Linked DNA regions of Homo sapiens: region 2 is linked to region 1. Evidence: promoter capture Hi-C in human tissues and cell types (Jung and others, 2019). All regions are on one chromosome and are shown on one strand. The core of a region is centred on a gene start or on the middle of the fragment in contact, and the rest is flanking DNA. Distances in the headings are between cores, read along the strand shown.

Region 1 (2,700 bases), core at 6-2,505:
TAAATCATTCCACCAAAAAGACACACACAATTATATGTTCATCACAGCACTATTCACAATAAAAAAGACATGGAATCAACCCAGGTGCCCATCAGTGGTGGACTGGATAAAGAAAATGTGGAACATATACACAATGGAATATTATGCAGCCATGAAAAAGAATGAAATCATGTTCTTCACAGCAACATGAATGCAGCTCAAAGCCATTATCCTAAGCGAACTAATGCAGGAACAGGAAACCAAATATCACATGTTCTTACTTGTAAGTGGGAGCTAAACATTGGGTACACATTGACATAAAGATGGGAACGACAGACTCTGGGGATGACTAGAGTGGGGAGAGTAAGGGGGTAAACGGCTGAAAAACTACTTCTTGGGTACTATGCTCACTACTTGGGTGGCAGATTGATTTGTACACCAAACCTTAGCATTTGTACTCCAAACTTTGTAACAAACCTGCATGTGTACCTTAATTCTGAAATAAAAGTTGAAGAAAAATAAAATTATTTAAATTTTTTTTCTGATACCTCTCTCCAATATTTTTCTCAGTTTGTGGCTTATCTTATGATACTATTATCTCACAGAAGTCTTTCCATTTGTGTGGCAAATTCTGCATATATTTTTCTCCATGGTTTCTTAGAAAGTATTTGTGTTTTTCAAGTCTGGTCCTATCCAAGTATCACAACAATTTTAACTTATTTTTTCTTTTTGTATTGCTTTAATTTTAATATCTTATTTCTTAATCCAAATAGTTTGGCCTTTAGTGTAGTATAGCTAAGGCTTTACTTTTAAATCCAGCAAAAGTCTGTTGCTTCTTAATAGGTCAAATTAAGTTTGATTCCTGAAAACTGCTTCACAGTTTTGAAGTATGTGTTATAATTAAATATGTCGTATTTTAAATAGTTAGTGGTAGAGTTTTCTGCATAAGGATAGTCCTAACAGTATATACAGTCATTTCCTAACAGTATATTTATAGCCAGTTAGTAAAATCCACATGAACTCTAACATCCTTACATCAGAACTAGCCAAGAGGGCTTTCACAGTATCATACTTTATCTATTAAAAAGCGGCACTGTGGAGAGAGGACTTGGAAAATAACTAAGTTGGTTTAAATTGCAACCAACTAATAATAATAAATATATATATTTATTGTTAATTAGAACAAGCTAGATAGCAAAGAGCTAGAAATACTCAACTAGGTGTCAGTTTTAACATGACCCTCTTCTACAAGACTTGATGTCACAGACCCAAAAAAATGTGTTCTTTTTTCTTGTGCCAAACAGGTAAACAGGCAAAAATATCAATGGGAGAAGAAAACCAAACCTTTGTGTCCAAGTTTATCTTCCTGGGTCTTTCACAGGACTTGCAGACCCAGATCCTGCTATTTATCCTTTTCCTCATCATTTATCTGCTGACCGTGCTTGGAAACCAGCTCATCATCATTCTCATCTTCCTGGATTCTCGCCTTCACACTCCCATGTATTTTTTTCTTAGAAATCTCTCCTTTGCAGATCTCTGTTTCTCTACTAGCATTGTCCCTCAAGTGTTGGTTCACTTCTTGGTAAAGAGGAAAACCATTTCTTTTTATGGGTGTATGACACAGATAATTGTCTTTCTTCTGGTTGGGTGTACAGAGTGTGCGCTGCTGGCAGTGATGTCCTATGACCGGTATGTGGCTGTCTGCAAGCCCCTGTACTACTCTACCATCATGACACAACGGGTGTGTCTCTGGCTGTCCTTCAGGTCCTGGGCCAGTGGGGCACTAGTGTCTTTAGTAGATACCAGCTTTACTTTCCATCTTCCCTACTGGGGACAGAATATAATCAATCACTACTTTTGTGAACCTCCTGCCCTCCTGAAGCTGGCTTCCATAGACACTTACAGCACAGAAATGGCCATCTTTTCAATGGGCGTGGTAATCCTCCTGGCCCCTGTCTCCCTGATTCTTGGTTCTTATTGGAATATTATCTCCACTGTTATCCAGATGCAGTCTGGGGAAGGGAGACTCAAGGCTTTTTCCACCTGTGGCTCCCATCTTATTGTTGTTGTCCTCTTCTATGGGTCAGGAATATTCACCTACATGCGACCAAACTCCAAGACTACAAAAGAACTGGATAAAATGATATCTGTGTTCTATACAGCGGTGACTCCAATGTTGAACCCCATAATTTATAGCTTGAGGAACAAAGATGTCAAAGGGGCTCTCAGGAAACTAGTTGGGAGAAAGTGCTTCTCTCATAGGCAGTGACCTCTGAGTCTGACTTTTAGAGCTATGGCAACATTCTTTAAAAAGGAGCAAGATTTTAGTAGGCAATTATGAATTAGGTTATTTCAGGAAGAAGTGTGAAAATGAACATGTTCTAAAAACTGTGAATACTACAATCTAAACTAGAACATAGGGAAAAAATAAAAGCATGAAAAGTTAGGTCATTTCTTGATTGTAAAAGGTGTTGGGTGCTACTGTGAGGAGTTTGTAGTTAATTCAGCTGCCATGGCATGTTTTAAGCACAGTCACAATTGAATCTAGGAGGTTTCAACCAGATTATTCTGAAATAACAGCTAATACAAATTGCAAGCATAATTCTAACATCAAAGATATCTCAAGTTTGTATGTCTTCAGCATACAAACCTTAGAATAGGCTCTGATTAAAACAATTAAAATATCTGTAAGAGTCTTTAATACTGGGTTCATTAGATCCT
Region 2 (2,938 bases), core at 197-2,696, 52 kb after region 1:
CAGGGTTAGCCATTGTCTCTTAGGAATAAACTGGAAAATGTTATAGAGTACTTACAGAATAGCTAACAAATTTTAAATTAAAGTCATTTTTAAACTACATATTGGCACTGTAAGGTTGTTTTTGCCAAGTCTATTTACTAAAGGAAATTTTTTTTCCCTGTACTACTCAGAGATGTGTTTTAATAGTTGTCTTCCCAAGACTACTCATCTAGAACCTTGAGACTGCCTACTATTATCTGGGAAACTACATTAAATGTTTGAGTGAGATAATTATATTTGTAAATTTAAAATTAAAGACCAGGCATCAGTAACCTTTTGTTTTCTTTGTGGAGAATGAGATAGTAAATATTTTAGACTTTATAGGTTATATAGTCACTCTTTGTCAAAACTACTCAATTTTTTACAAAAGCAGCCATAAACAATACATAATGAATGGGTATGACTGTTAAAATAAGACTTTATTTACAAAAACAGGTGACAGGCCAAATTTGGCCCACATAATTCATCAGCCCCCGTTAGACTAAGTTTATCCTAGGAGACTTTTTTTTTTTTTTAACCAATATTGTAGCAGTTTACTTCCTATAAATTCACAGATTGTTTTTTATATTTAACTTAATAACTATTGAATAACTACAAATACTGTAAACTCTCCTACTAAATTGGGAATGTATCTTTAAGCTTTTCTCCTTGCAAGAGATTTTTGCAAGTAAAATTCACGAGTGATTTTAATAAATGGATTTTAAATTAGAGTGGAAGATCTTTTACTTTCATAAATACCAAAACTCTTATATAAATCAATGGAAGGTGGAATTTCAAGGAAAGCAGAAATCTTCCCTGGCAAATGCCAAAGAAATTTTGACAGAGATGAAACTGAAATAATTACATTGTATTTTCCTATAAAATGATTATCAAGACAGTATTACAATAGTGTGAACTATAATTGTAGGGCTCAAGAGACTAGAAAGAGCTGATCTGTCGAGAAATTCAGACTGTGCATTTCCAATGTCATAAAATAGCCCTTAGCATTGAAAGGATTTTTTTAATTTTTTTTATTATACTTTAAGTTCTAGGGTACATGTGCAAAACGTGCAGGTTTGTTACATGTGTATACATGTGCCATGTTGGTGTGCTGTACCCATTAACTCGTCATTTACATTAAGTATATCTCATAATGCTTTCCCTCCCACCCCACAACAGGCCCCGGTGTGTGATGTCCCCCTTCCTGTCTCCAAGTGTTCTCATTGCTCAATTCCCACCTATGAGTGAGAACATGCAGTGTTTGGTTTTCTGTCCTTGCAATAGTTTGCTCAGAATGATGGTTTCCAGCTTCATCCATGTCCCTACAAAGGACATGAACTCATCATTTTTTATGGCTGCATAGTATTCCATGGTGTATATGTGCCACATTTTCTTAATCCAGTCTATCATTGATGGGCATTTGGATTGGTTCCAAGTCTTTGCTATTGTGAATAGTGCCACAATAAACATACGTGTGCATGTGTCTTTATAGCAGCATGATTTATAATCCTTTGGGTATATACCCAGTAATGGGATGGCTGGGTCAAATGGTATTTCTAGTTCTAGATCCCTGAGGAATTGCCACACTGTCTTCCACAATGGTTGAACTAGTTTACAGTCCCACCACCAGTGTAAAAGTCTTCCTATTTCTCCACAACCTGTCCAGCACCTGTTGTTTCCTGACTTTTTAATGATCGCCATTCTAACTGGTGTGAGATGGTATCTCATTGTGGTTTTGATTTGCATTTCTCTGATGGCCAGTGATGATGAGCATTTTTTCCTGTGTCTGTTGGCTGCATAAATGTCTTCTTTTGAGAAGTGTCTGTTCATATCCTTCACCCACTTGTTGATGGGGTTGTTTTAACCTTGTAAACTTGTTTGAGTTCTTTGTGGATTCTGGATATTAGCCCTTTGTCAGATGAGTAGATTACAAAAACTTTTTCCCATTCTGTAGGTTGCCTGTTGACTCTGATGGTAGTTTCTTTAGCTGTGCAGAAGCTCTTTAGTTTAAATTAGATCCCATTTGTCAATTTTGGCTTTTGTTGCTATTGCTTTTGGTGTTTTAGACATGAAGTCCTTGCCCATTTCTATGTACTGAATGGTACTGCCTAGGTTTTCTTCTAGGGTTTTTATGGTTTTAGGTCTAATATTTAAGTCTTTAATCTATCTTGAATTAATTTTTGTATAAGGTGTAAGGAAGGGATCCAGTTTCAGCTTTCTACATATGGCTAGCCAGTTTTCCCAGCACCATTTCTTAAATAGGGAATCCTTTCCCCATTTCTTGTTTTTGTCAGGTTTGTCAAAGATCAGATGGTTGTAGATGTGTGGTATTATTTCTGAGGGCTCTGTTCTGTTCCATTGGTCTATATCCCTGTTTTGGTACCAGTACCATGCTGTTTTGGTTACTGTTGCCTTGTAGTATAGTTTGAAGTCAGGTAGCGTGATGCCTCCAGCTTTGTTCTTTTGGCTTAGGATTGACTTGGCCATGTGGGCTCTTTTTTGGTTCCATATGAACTTTAAAGTAGTTTTTTCCAATTCTGGGAAGAAAGTCATTGGTAGCTTGATAGGGATGGCATTGAATCTATAAATTACCTTGGGCAGTATGGCCATTTTCATGATATTGATTCTTCCTATCCATGAGCATGGAATGTTTTTCCATTTGTTTGTATCCTCTTTTATTTCATTGAGCAGTGGTTTGTAGTTCTTGAAGAGGTCCTTCACATCCCTTGTAAGTTGGATTCCTAGGTATTTTATTCTCTTTGAAGCAATTGTGAATGGGAGTTCACTCATGATTTGGCTCTCTGTTTGTCTGTTATTGATGTATAAGAATGCTTGTGATTTTTGCACATTGATTTTGTATCCTGAGACTTTGCTGAAGTTGCTTATCAGCTTAAGGAGATTTTGGGCTGAGACGATGGGG

The links. Contacts are between HindIII fragments. The study calls those that stand out against the background at their distance.
Region 2: a contact is called between a fragment that was not itself captured here and the fragment with the promoter of OR2D3 in region 1, in 1 of the 25 tissues and cell types used here (pancreas).

The regions. Positions count from the first base shown.
Region 1 is chr11:6,919,747-6,922,446 of GRCh38, forward strand. OR2D3 (olfactory receptor family 2 subfamily D member 3) reads left to right here and starts at 1,256. Exons shown (of 1, transcript NM_001004684.1): 1 at 1,256-2,248. The coding sequence starts at 1,256. The coding sequence ends at 2,248. All of the region lies in intron 3 of LOC107984019 (a long non-coding RNA gene), which reads right to left. The HindIII fragment of the contact is 21,059 bases long and covers 1-2,700 here.
Region 2 is chr11:6,971,869-6,974,806 of GRCh38, forward strand. It overlaps a transcript of ZNF215 not described here. Among named protein-coding and RNA genes, the nearest start is that of ZNF215, 47 kb to the left of the region's middle. The HindIII fragment of the contact is 5,832 bases long and covers 1-2,938 here.